4 separate regions of the Homo sapiens genome follow, and regions 1, 2 and 3 are each linked to region 4. Evidence: promoter capture Hi-C in 16 types of primary human blood cells and fetal thymus (Javierre and others, 2016). All regions are on one chromosome and are shown on one strand. The core of a region is centred on a gene start or on the middle of the fragment in contact, and the rest is flanking DNA. Distances in the headings are between cores, read along the strand shown. Region 1 overlaps SDK1 (sidekick cell adhesion molecule 1). Region 2 overlaps SDK1 (sidekick cell adhesion molecule 1). Region 3 overlaps SDK1 (sidekick cell adhesion molecule 1). Region 4 holds the start of SDK1 (sidekick cell adhesion molecule 1).

Region 1 (3,128 bases), core at 503-3,002, 320 kb after region 4:
AACTTACCCTTTTTATTAGGACCCCTCTCCCTTGATAACTAACTCCCTCCCACAGTATCAGCATTAATCCATTCCTGAAGGTAGAGCCTGCATGACCTAATCATATCCTCAAGGTCCTGCCTCTTATTACTGTTAGAATGGCCATCACATTTCATCATGAGTTTTGGAGGGGACATTCAGACCGTAACTCTAGGAAAGAGCTTGGCTTGGGTTTAAATGTGCAAGAAGTGAAGTGTGCCTGGAGTGCTCGGTGTGAGCAGAGAGGGGAGGAGGCCTGAATGAAAGTTAGAAAGCTGATTATGCAGGTGGATCTTGGGGACTTTTGTAGAAAAATGACGAGTCATATAATCCTGTTTATTTTGCTGATAAAGAAACAAAAACCTGTAAGTCCTGATGAGGATCAGGTAGCTAATTAGTGATGCTACAGCTAGAAGCCAAGTGTGCTGCATCCATATTAAAAAATGTTATTGAAACAGATCTACAAAACATTGACAAATCATATCTAGTATTCTCTCCATTTTCACAAAGTAAATGTACCTTTGTAACCACATCAGGAAATAAATTTTGACCTGCTTTTCATAAGCCATCCCATTACCTTCACCCCCGTCGCTATCCCATCCCTCAGAGGTAACCCTTATCCTTAACCTCTGACACCATAGATTAGTTTTATCTGGCTGTGAACTTTTATGAACTTTTGAATAGTAGCACATGCTATAAGCTTTTTTGAAAATTCTGTCTGGCTTCTTTCACTCGGCTTGATGTGTGTGGGATTTACCTGTGTTGCTATGTGTAGCAATTGTTGCTGCATTCTCGCTGCAGTGCGCTGTTCCATTATGTGAATATACCATGAGTTTCCTGTGTTGTATCCCATTGAAAGTCACCAGGAGAGACCATTTCCACGTGTGTATGAAAGGAAAGCTAGGTTGCGATTCATGTCGTTTATGTATGTATGTCAATCTTGCTTATCTTACTTTTTTAAAACCAATTGAAGGTTATAGAGGAAACTTCTCTTTTATAGCCTGCATACACTTGACTGTTTTCTCGCAAATAGATTGCCTAGTTAAAACCAAAAGCTTGTATGTACAGGGATTGTCCGATATGTCCCTTCAATAAGCTATTAACCATAAGTGGAAATAACTTGGATGAACCTGTCAGATGCTTTCAAATGCGGGTATCATTGAGCTTTCAGCTTTTTGAAATATTATCTGGGGTATTGCATGTTTCCAGGGTTTGGTAAAGGATTATTTACTTCTTAATTGGGCCAAACAGCCATCACTTTCATTTTAATATTACGTTTGTTTAAATAATAGATTTATTAAATTAGATGAGTGCCACTTTCATGCGTACTTCAGTTTTGTTTTGTTTTGTTTTTTAATATTTCAGATGATGTTGCTCCATATTTTAAAACGGAGCCAGGCCTACCACAGATCCACCTGGAAGGGAACCGCCTTGTTCTCACCTGCCTTGCCGAAGGGAGCTGGCCTTTGGAGTTCAAGTGGATGCGCGATGACAGTGAGCTCACCACCTACAGCAGCGAATATAAGTAATTGATCGCTTGAAAAAATAAGATCCCATTTCAGTTGATGTGTTTGGAATACTTGCCTTACTGGTCATAATAGCACAATGAGTGAAAATATTGGATTGAATTTCTAATGCATTCAAGATTAAAGGAATAGATTTGAATATGTAATTAGAATGTGATTTACTATTCTGATATAGGTTGTACTTACACCTAGGAAGTCTATCATTATATTTGTAAAAGTAAGCCCATTAGTGAAATTATCAGTCAACAAAAACCTATGGTTACAGAGCAATGCCAATAACAGCTTTGGTATGATACATTTACTTTCCAAGGGCAACAGCCCTACCCACAAGTATTGCTCCTGTCTAGGCACAAATGTTTAAACAGATCTTTAGTATGGTAGCTTCTGGAGCTCTGAGTAGTCAGCAAAAGTCTTTCCTAGCTGTTTTCAAGTGGAGATAGGGATGGATGGAATCATGGAGAATGGGCATGCATACAGCCTGTATATTCAGCAGCAATAAAACAGTATATATTGAAGTCCTGCCATGTGCCCAGCACTGTGCCAGTCACCAGGGATCTGATGCACTGGGGTGGACATGATGTGGGGACAGAGGGCCTGAACCTGTGGCAGAGCACAAGATCAGGGTAAGACTGAGGTGTAGATTCACCTGGAGGCAGTAGCACAGCCTTTGGAGCCTCAGGGTCTTACCACGCTTCAGAGCTTTCCAGGGGTATACTTTTGAGGATGATAATATTACATGCTGCAGTTCTGTGCAGGATGGAGAACTAGCATGCCAGAAAAGTCCAGGAGGCCTCACCATCAGCAAATCAGCAAAATCATCGCTGCCATGCTTTTCTTTAGATGAAATAAGAAAGAGTGGGCTGTATAGAGGCATTTTAAGTGGAATAACAAGCTTCTCAAATGGGGAATAGCCCACCCACTCACTCTCTTTACCTCTGAGGTTGTGATACGGTGGTCCGTGGAACCACACTCAGCCTGCCCAGAATTTATGTGTGTGTCAGTTGTCTGTGTGTTTGTATTTTAAAAATCAATTAAAAAAAATATGAGAATGCTTACAGCATTTTTTTTTTTTTTAATTTGAGACGGAGTTTCACTCTTGTTGCCCAGGCTGGAGTGCAGTGGCGCGATCTTGGCTCACTGCAACCTCCACCTTCTGGGTTCAAATGATTCTCCTGCCTCAGCCTCCCAAGTAGCTGGTTCTACAGGCGTGAGCCACCACACCTGGCTAATTTTTGTATTTTTAGTAGAGATGGGGTTTCACCATGTTGACCAGGCTTGTCTCAAACTCCTGACCTCAGGTGATCTGCCTGCCTTGGCCTGCCAGATTGCTGGGATTACAGGTGTGAGCCACAGCATATTTTTTTATTAGCTGCCAACATTTGACAGTTCTAAGATTTTCTGTAAAAACCTTGCTTCCCAGCCTCTGCAGACCAGTCAGAAGGCCTGGCTGCCTGGTCTGCAGCCCCAATCAGGAGCAGGCGGCTGAGCAGAGCTGCCCCCATCAAAGGCATGGACACTCCCTGGTTCTCCTCGGTGCTCTCTGGCAGCCCCGTCCCTTGTAGCACCTCACTTGCTCTCCCCATT
Region 2 (3,247 bases), core at 195-2,694, 340 kb after region 4:
ACTATGAGTATTTTTCTAATCTGTTTTGTTGGTTTGTTTCATCTTTTCCCTCAAGTATTAGACACTGTCACATAGAAAATGTCTTTTGACTGAAGAAGACATTGATAATAGAGCACTTCTGTGGACTATTTCAAACTTATTTATGTTTAAATAAAAATACACTATTTTGCCATATCTGTTTGTATATATATTTACATCTGACCATAATATGGAATCTTATTCAAAATTTTCAAATGTTACAAATTTTAAAATTAGCCTTTTATACCTACATTCTAATAGCTATGTTTTGTCCTATGACCCCATTTTTTAAATTTTTTTTATCAGTAGAACAAATACTGGAACAAAAGCTAGTTGCCCCAGATTAAGTCAACAGTATGAGAGTGGGAGAATAGTATATAGACTCTTCAGTGGTTAGGAAATATTGCTCCCAAAAGATCTGTGCAGGAGACAGTGACCTCACAAATGAAGGAAACAAGCTGAAGAGAGCAAGGGCCGGTGCCGGGCTGGAACGAGTTTGAAAGATTTAGGAGCTAGGAGATGTCTGGACACATTTTCTGACAGTTTCTGAGAAAACTGCTTCACGTGGCTCTAGGATGGCTTCAGCATTTCATTTCAGTGTCACAGACAGTTGCAGACATTTCCTTGTATTGTCAGGTAGGACAAAGACCATGTGGCTTTGCTGAGGAATGTGCAGCGTGGGCGCTTTGGAGGCGCGTGGCTTGCCCGGTGCTTCACTCGCAAGCAGATCCGCGTTGGTCAGCGCTGCCGTGCAGTCTCGCTCGTCCTGGTGTGAAATGTGGCAGCATCAGTGACTTTACTGTAACACTTACCTGTTTCCATCTGTGACCCCTTCCCTCCCCCAAAAATGTTTTCTAGAACTTGAAAGCACTTCTTTTTCTCTGCAGATATGGGAAGTTTCATGGATACGGACCAGAGGAAAACAGTTTCTCAAGGACGTGCAGCGATTCTAAACCTGCTGCCCATCACCAGCTACCCCAGACCTCAAGTGACTTGGTTTAGAGAAGGGCACAAGATTATTCCAAGCAACAGAATGTAAGTTGCTCCAAACGTTAAAGCTTCAAATACAATTGTAATGTCACTTGCTGGCACCATCTACACAGTAAGTGTACCAATTAAGGTTACCGATGATTTAAAAAGAGCAAACTAGTCTAGGAGTCCTATCCTAATTTTTAATAAACAGCTATTTGAGGACTGGCTTGAATATTTTTAACCAGTTTAAGCAAATAACTGTCTAATATTATTCTTCAGAATGTTGCATGCCCTAAAACTAAAGCAGCCTTACCCAACTTTGCAGTCCATTTTTTTCTTTTCTGAGTGTACTTTTTAAGATGTCATTGTCATCCCTGAGTTGGGTTTGCCTCCTAGTACTAATTTAATGAGTGCTGGTATTTACTTACAGTGCTGTGGGGTTTTTTTTCCCCCTCCTTTTATTGAGCCATGTTTGATACTGCTTTCTCTGACGATAAAACAGTAATTACTGCTTATTTCTCTTTATCCTTTTATCCTACCATGACAGTTTTATTTCTCTTCATCTAATTAGTGGTTCACCCATCTATTGCAGAATAGTTGCTTTGTGATTAGTTAGGCAAGAACATCTTGAAATAATGCTTATCTCACATTCAAGATATTTATCTAATGCCCGACAGGTTTTCTTCACTTGGAGCTTTAAGTGATTAAAAAGAACACTTGGTATATATTTCATAACTGGACATTTTACAACCTAATTTAAAGACAATATTCCAAACATAAAGGTTTCAAGGCTGAACATTTCCAGAAGAATCATGAAATGCTATAAGCTTAGGCCAGAAGTCAGATATTTATGCCATCCAGTGGTTGCACTCAGATAAAAATTCATCAGGAGCAAATACTATTGTTGTGCTTTTTCAAAAAGAATATGTGTGAGGTCATTTGCCAAATAGATTTTACATCTAACTGTGAAAGTCACTGTGGGAACCCACCTGCTCTCTCCCCTACCTGAGCATCTGTGGAATCCCTTCCCGAAGCCTTGTGATTCTCATCTCCAACCCTACCTGAGCATCTGTGGAATCCTTTCGCTAAATCTCATGATTCTCCTCTCCACCCCTACCTGAGCATCTGTGGAATCCCTTCCTGAAGGCTCATGATTCTTGTCTCCCACCCCTACCTGAGCATCTGTGGAATCCCTTCCCTAAACCTCATGATTCTCATCTACCTGAACATCTGTGGAATCCTTTCCCTAAACCTCGTGATTCTCATCTCCCACCCCTACCTGAGCATCTGTGGAATCCTTTCCCTAAACCTGGTGATTCTCGTCTCCCACCCCCACCTGAGCATCTGTGGAATCCCTTCCCTAAAGCTGTTGATTCTCGTCTCCTACCCCCACCTGAGCATCTGTGGAATCCTTCCCCTAAACCTGGTGATTCTCCTCTCCCACTCCCACCTGAGCAACTGTGGAATTCCTTCCGTAAACCTCGTGATTCTTGTCTCCACCCCCACCTGAGCATCTGTGGAGTCCCTTCCCTAAACCTGGTGATTCTCCTCTCCCACCCCCACCTGAGCATCTGTGGAATCCCTTCCCTAAGCCTCCTGATTCTCTTCTCCCATCCCCACCTGAGCATCTGTGGAATCCCTTCCCTAAACCTCATGATTCTCATCTCCCACCCCTACCTGAGCATCTGTGGAATTCCTTCCCTAAACCTGGTGATTCTCCTCTCCCACCCCCACCTGAGCATCTGTGGAATCCTTTCCCTAAGCCCCATGTCTCCAGTCTTCTAGTTCTGGACCAGGATCTGGCTGGAACCTAAATAATAATAATTATTATTATTACTATTAATAATTATATAATACTTATAATTAATAATTATTATTTTGAGACAGAGTCCCTCTGTCACCCAGGCTGAGGTACAGTGGCGTGATCTCAGCTCACTGCAACCTTTCCCTCCCAGGTTCAAGCGATTCTCCTGCCTCAGCCTCCTGAGTAGCTGGGACTGCAGGTGTGTGTCACCATCCCCGGCTAATTTTTGTGTTTTTAGCAGAGGTGAGGTTTTACCATGTGTCCAGGCTAGTCTCGAAGTCCTTACCTCAAATGATCCACCTGCCTCGGCCTCCCAAAGTGCTGGGATTACAGGCATGAGCCACCACTTAAGCTTATTTCACAAATGTTTCTATTTTGGTTATTGGGAACAAAAATTTATATATATATATATATATATATGCATGCAGCATATTTTAAAATTCTAGTAAAAAT
Region 3 (3,208 bases), core at 649-3,148, 290 kb after region 4:
CCTGCTTCCCTATTTCCCAGGTAATCACTCACCTACTTTGTATAGATTTGCCTACTAGGGACATTTATATTAATGTAATCATACATAGACGGTTTTTGTCACTGACTTGTTTCACTCAACATAGTGTTTTCAAGGCTCATCCATGTTGCAACATGTGTCAACACCCAAATTCCTTTTTATTGCAGATTAATAAAGTGTGTGGATATACCACATATTGCTTATCCATTTATCAGTTGATAGACATTTGGATTGTTTCTGCTTTTTGGCTATCATGAATAATGCTGCTATGAGCATTGATAATACAAGTTTTTGTGTGGATGTATGTTTTCGTTTCTCTTGAGTATATACCTAAGGATGGAATTACTGGGTCGTATGGTAACTTGATACCTAACATTTTGAGAGACCGCCAAACCATTTCCATTTTACATTGCCGCCGGTCATGTATGAGGGTTCTGATTTCTCCACATCCTTGCCAACACTTGTAATTGTTTGTCTTTTTGATTCTAGTCACTTTACTGGGTGGTTTGGGTGGGTTACCTCATTAATTGTGACTTTGATTTTAATTTTCCCAGTGACTAATGACATTGAACATTTTTCCTGTGCTTATTAGTCTAAATATACTATTGATTGTAAGAAAAATTGCTTACTGTTTTAGAGATAATACTGATATAAGAACCATCAGTCCCTGCTTTCATTAGAGGGGCAAGAGTGAGGATAGTTTTAAAATCAAGCATACTTAAAGAATCATACCTGCATCTCATTAAAAGAAAATGTTATTTCTAGGTAAAGCTAAATCATCATTAATGTATAGGGTTTACTGTTTTTCTAGTAGGTTTATGTGTAGAGCACTCATTTTGTTTGGTTTAATCTCTAGTTGCTTTTATGTTTTAATTTAACAAAAATGGGTGATTGGAAAGATGGAAAATACCCTTGTTGCCACCACAGTGAGTTCCAATTTGATTTCAGCAACGCGTAGAAGATTGAAGTCAGATGCAGCCAATTTTCTCCCGATTACTTTTTTTTTGAATCTTGCCTGAATAATGTGAGCTTTTTCAGCTAGCTAATTAACACTGTTTTTTTCTGCCATATTGGTGACTTTATGATATTTTGCTTGTAATTATATATATATTCATTTATATACTTCTACCCTATTCGTAACTTTATGATATTTTGCTTGTAAAAAATTATATATAAATTCATTTATATACTTCTACCCTATTTATTAAATGTCCCCTGCATGAAATATATATTAATAGCTACTGCATGGATTATCTTTGATTGCTTTTCTAATAACAGTTATCTGGACTTTGCTTGGTCTTGGGTAAGAGGCATATTTGTATGTATATTTTCTCATTTTTGAAACAGAAACATAAACTGTTGCCTCCGATATATTTAATAAAACTCACCAGCACTACTGATAATATTTAATTATGCAGTTATAATTCTATTCATTTTTAGTTTACATTCTGAATCTTAGGGGCAGTGAGGCAGAGTGACATGATCATGGAAGTATTTGTACCACAGGGGTTTGACCTTGACTCTGCCACTTCCTGCGTGACTTTGAACTAGTCAAAGTTACCAGTTCAAAGTTAGACTTTGAACGAGTCTAATTGTTAGAGAATGGCATGAACCCGGGAGGCGGAGCTTGCAGTGAGCCCAGATAGTGCCACTGCACTCCAGCCTGGTCGACAGAGTTAAGACTTCATCTCAAAAAAAAAAAAAAAAAAAAAAAAAAAACAACAACAAAAAAGGAGGTTACAGTCTGTTTATGTTGTCTAGTTACTAGTCAACACTAACCACTCTGGCTCGGTGTTTTAACCTGTCTAATGGGTATTTTTTTTTTTTTTTTAAGTCATACCATCTACCTGATGCGGTCGTTGTGAGAACATTTCAGATAGTATTTATTAAAATATTTCCTCCTTGGTATGAAGTAGATGCTCAATAATTGTTAGGTAGCACAGATTAATTATCCTTTATCTAAAAATTCCAAATCTGAAATGCTCCAGTGAGCATTTCCTTTGTTGGTGCTCAAAAAGTTCCGCATTTTGGAGCGTTTCAGTCTGTCGTTCCAGGGGTAGTAACAGAAGCTGTCATCTTGCTGGCTCTTCCATCTGGCTGGGTTGCATGAGAGTTAAACAGTAATAGGAGAAATGAAATTTCAGTAATAGGCAGTCTCCTTAGCACAATAATTGGTACAAGAGAGTAAGTCTGACAGTGCCAGTGACCATCAGAACAAACCACAGTCATTGTGGTAAAGTTGCTCGAGGCAGTGACTGAGGAAAGTGTGTCTCCATTTCTGTAACAATGGGTAGATGTCTGCTCTAAGGATTTTTAATTGAGGTAAAATGTACAGAAAGCATGAAAAGAATTTCATAGATGTTAAGTGCATAAGCCGGTAAGTTTTGACAAACGCATGGACTTTGTGACCACCTCCTCACTCCAGATGAACGTCTCCATCACCCCTGCAAGTTCCCTCAGGCCCTTCCAATTAATCTCCATCCCTGTAGGCAGTCGTTTTTCTGATTTCTTTTCAAATAGATAAATATTACCTGTGCTTGAATTTCATATGAAGGAAATCAAAATGTTAAAAGAAGAACTTCAGACAAAGGAAATTTAGCAGAGTTTAATTGAGCGAAGACTAATTCTGGAATCAGAAGCCCCCAGGCTAGCCTAAGTTCAGAGTAACTCATGCTGCCACATCATCAGATAACACTTATGAACAGAAAAAGGAAAGCACCATAAAAGATAGAAGTGAGGTACAGGTACAGAAACAGCTAGATTGGTTACAGCTTAGCGTCTGCCTTACTTGAACACAGTTTGAACACTGGCCGCCTGTGATTGGCCAAAACTGGTATAAGAGTAGGTTACAGGCTGAGCGAGGTGACTCACACCTGTAACCCCAGCACTTTGGGAGGCCGAGGCAGGCGGATCATGAGGTCAGGAGATCGAAACCATCCTGGCTAACACGGTGAAACCCTGTCTCTACTAAAAATACACAAAAAATTAGCCGGATGTGGTGGCGGGTGCCTGTAGTCCCAGCTACTCAGGAGGCCGAGGCAGGAGAATGGCGTGAACCCGGGAGGCGGAGCTTGCAGTGAGCCCAGATCGCGCCACTGCACTCCAGCCTGGTCGACAGAGTAAGACTTGGTCTCAAAAAAAAAAAAAAAAAAAAAGAGGATGTTACAGTCTGTTTATGTTATCTAGTTAC
Region 4 (3,009 bases), core at 105-2,604:
CCTCACTATATCCTCAGAACAGGGCACTCCGTGGCTCCTTTAACTTTTTTGCCCCTCCTAGCATGGTGTGGAAAGGGGGCAGATGGGAGGCCTCTTTCTGAAACCACCTCCTGTTCGGCGGCTGTACTTGGACCTCAGTTTCCCTGTTTTGTTCACGTGGTCATTGTTAAGTCTTAGGGGACGTGTACAGAGGCTAATATTGAGCCACCAATCAGTTATTTGACAAATACCATAGGCGCTCTGTGAGCAGGAGCTGGCTCCTATCCCAGACCCCAGCCCTGTGACCTGCTCTCCACTCGCCCGGGGTCTTTCTTGGCTGGGACAATAAACCTACTGCATCAGGTGATTCCTGGGGAGTCAGCCCCGTGCTGGGCTCACACCCAGCCCCTCTGCGTTCATCTCTTACATGATCTCATGCGACCATCATCACACGTCCCCAGGCTCCTCCCGGGCCAACTCCAGAGGCAGTGCGTGTCACCTCCAGCTCTCCTCCCACAAAAATGCTGGCCTTTCAGCCTCCAGTGCGCTTAGTTCACCCCATAAACTCTGCTAATGCTTACCACATGCTGAGCGTCGGCGCCCGTCCCCACCCCCAGCCCCACAGGCTCCCGGGTCCCGCCCTGGGAGACCCTCCCACTGGCCGACCCTGCCCCAAGACTCGCCCACTCCACGGTGGGAAACCTGCAATGTGTCCCTCCCTACCCCGCCCTCCTCCAGCGCCGGCCAAAAGTGACCTTGGACGCTTCTACAATGCCATATCCACTCCTCTGAACAGGAGGCGAGTTTGCACCCAGTGGTGCCTTTGGTTGCTAGAAATTAAAAACCCGATTGCGCGTGTTTGCAATTACGGTAACTTGGCGCGTCACCCCCAAGCACTGAGCTAGCTGGTGGTAGCCGGGCGCCTCTCGGGGCGCGCCCTATTCCGCCCTCGGCCCTGGGCTGCCGCACGATCTGCGCGTCCTGCTGCACCTGAGCCCTTCCCACTCGGGCGCCCGCACCGCTGCGGGGCCGGGCGAGGATGCACCACCCCCGCCCGCGAGCCCGCCACGGGAGCGCGTGCCGAATCGACGCCGCCTGCAGTCCCCACTACGGGTCCCTAGGGGGCGCAGCCGGCGCGGGAAGCCGCCCGAGCCAGGCGCCGCGGCCGGCACAAAATTGCAGGCGGGCGGGCGCCGCGACTTTGAAAACAAGCGAGGGCCTGGGGGGCGGGCCCTGGGAGCGGGCGCCGCCTCCCTCGGCCAATCAACGGCGGGCGGCGGGCGGCGGGCGCGGGCGGCGCGTGCGGCCGGGCTGTGAATGGGGAGCGGCGGCCGCGGCAGCTGAGGGCGAGCGCGACCGCGACGTGCGGGCGGGCGCACTTTCTTCTCAGCGCCGGGCGGGGGCGGCGGCGGCGGCGGCTCCTCCGCGCCCGGCGGACCCCTCGGAGCTAGCGCGGCGGGCTCGGGACTGCGTGAGCGCCGGACGCGAATTTCCCCCGTTGACAACTTCTTCTCGCCCGGCTCGTCCCCGGCCCGCGCCGCGCCCCTCACGCGGGGACCCAGGACGCCGCCCCTCAGCGCTGGGCGGCCGCTCACCTCGGGCCGGGGGGCGCCGCGCCTCCCGCGGAGTGGCCGCGCCCGCTCGGAGCCGTCCCGCCTGTCCTGCCCGCCCGTCCGTCCGGCGCGGCGCTCGGGGTGGCGGCTGCTCGGCATGGCCCGGGGCGCCCGGCCCTCGGCGGCCGGTGGCGGCGGCGGCGGCGCGGAGCCCCCTGAGCGCGCGGGCCCCGGGCGGCCGCGGGGATCCCCGCCCGGCCGCGCCCGCCCCTCGCTGGCGCCGCGCCCCGGCCCGGAGCCCTCGCGACCCCGGGCGGCGCCCGAGACCTCCGGCGGGGACACGGCGGGCGCGGGGCGGTGCGGCGGGCGGCGGGCGGCAAAGTTGGGGCCGGGCCGCCGCGGCTGGTGGGCGCTGCTGGCGCTGCAGCTGCACTTGCTCCGGGCGCTGGCGCAAGGTAGGTGCGCGCGGGGTCGCGGGCCGGGGGCGTCGCCTCGGGGCGCGGAGGCGCGAACTTGAGCAGCGAGAGTGTGTCCGGGGTCCCCCCGCTTCCCGGCCCGGGTCGGGATGCGCCTTGCTGGGGGCTCTAGGGAGCCCAGGGGCTCCTCCACGCCAGACTCGGAGGAGAGGGAAACGGAGCCCCGTAGAGCCTGCACCCCGTCTGCTACTTTGCGTTTTATTTTTTTTATACCGCAGTAGCACAAACAAAAATTTTTAAGTTGAGGACCCATTTCTCAGCTCCTTAAAAGGATGCCCGAGTCCCCTTCCCATTGCATGGATGAAAAAGGGGCTGGTCTGTACCTGAGTCTTCGCACCGCAGGGTCTGGTTTCCGGTGAGTGACATCCAGAAGACTTGGAAATATCAAGTGCCAGTCGCTGTGAAAAGCCTTTTCCAGCCCCTCCCCAGGGCCTCGTCCTCTCCCCAGCCCCCGCCTGCTCCTGACTCCCCCAAGTCCCAAAGCCCGACCCCAAGTGGGTGCTGCGCGGCCGGTGGAGCAAAACTTTCAGTGCCCACAGCTTTTGCACTTGGCTTTGTTTTTCTCCCTCTATTGGCTTCTGTTTAGAATACAGTGGTGAGCTCTGAAATAGGGAAAGAGGATCTGCTGAATGGAAATGACCTTTTGAAACGAGAGATGGGATCTCTTGTGAAACGAGCTTTCCTTCCCAAATCTGGGCTTCCCTCCACCCCCTCCCCGCCCCCGACAAAACCCGTAACGTACCCCTGCCAGCTAGCATCGTTTTCTTTTGAAGTTTGCTGGTCTTTAAACCAAAACACCCCCCTCAACCCAGAAATAACTATTTTAATACGTCCTTTGGTAACGTCTTTAAAACACATTAGTGAACTGGTTTTGCTGATGGTAGTTTTAGGAAAATTAACTTAGTTGTATTCCAAGATACAGCTAACGAACAATCATGGTAAGGAACTCGATATTCTGAGATTGGCGAAGATGAGAGCATTAAACTTAAATTAGCTGTGTT

Evidence for each region. Contacts are between HindIII fragments. The CHiCAGO score rates a contact against its expected background, and 5 or more counts as called.
Region 1: a contact is called between a fragment that was not itself captured here and the fragment with the promoter of SDK1 in region 4, in 1 of 17 cell types (activated CD4 T cells). The highest score is 6.2, in activated CD4 T cells.
Region 2: a fragment that was not itself captured here is called in contact with the fragment with the promoter of SDK1 in region 4 in 3 of 17 cell types (activated CD4 T cells, non-activated CD4 T cells and total CD8 T cells); the score reaches 9.1 in activated CD4 T cells.
Region 3: a contact is called between a fragment that was not itself captured here and the fragment with the promoter of SDK1 in region 4, in 1 of 17 cell types (activated CD4 T cells). The highest score is 5.3, in activated CD4 T cells.

What each region holds. Positions count from the first base shown.
Region 1 is chr7:3,617,697-3,620,824 of GRCh38, forward strand. It overlaps SDK1 (sidekick cell adhesion molecule 1), which reads left to right. Exons shown (of 45, transcript NM_152744.4): 2 at 1,384-1,543. Among named protein-coding and RNA genes, the nearest start is that of SDK1-AS1, 270 kb to the left of the region's middle. The HindIII fragment of the contact is 1,363 bases long and covers 1,072-2,434 here.
Region 2 is chr7:3,641,053-3,644,299 of GRCh38, forward strand. SDK1 (sidekick cell adhesion molecule 1) reads left to right here. Exons shown (of 45, transcript NM_152744.4): 4 at 906-1,053. Among named protein-coding and RNA genes, the nearest start is that of SDK1-AS1, 290 kb to the left of the region's middle. The HindIII fragment of the contact is 741 bases long and covers 1,075-1,815 here.
Region 3 is chr7:3,594,120-3,597,327 of GRCh38, forward strand. All of the region lies in intron 1 of SDK1 (sidekick cell adhesion molecule 1), which reads left to right. Among named protein-coding and RNA genes, the nearest start is that of SDK1-AS1, 240 kb to the left of the region's middle. The HindIII fragment of the contact is 4,736 bases long and covers 1-3,208 here.
Region 4 is chr7:3,299,898-3,302,906 of GRCh38, forward strand. It overlaps SDK1 (sidekick cell adhesion molecule 1), which reads left to right and starts at 1,355. Exons shown (of 45, transcript NM_152744.4): 1 at 1,355-1,987. The coding sequence starts at 1,690. It overlaps SDK1-AS1 (SDK1 antisense RNA 1), which reads right to left. Exons shown (of 3, transcript XR_001744897.3): 1 at 2,332-3,009. RefSeq lists enhancers at 1-434, 435-946, 1,656-2,156 and a silencer at 832-1,381. The HindIII fragment of the contact is 8,975 bases long and covers 1-3,009 here.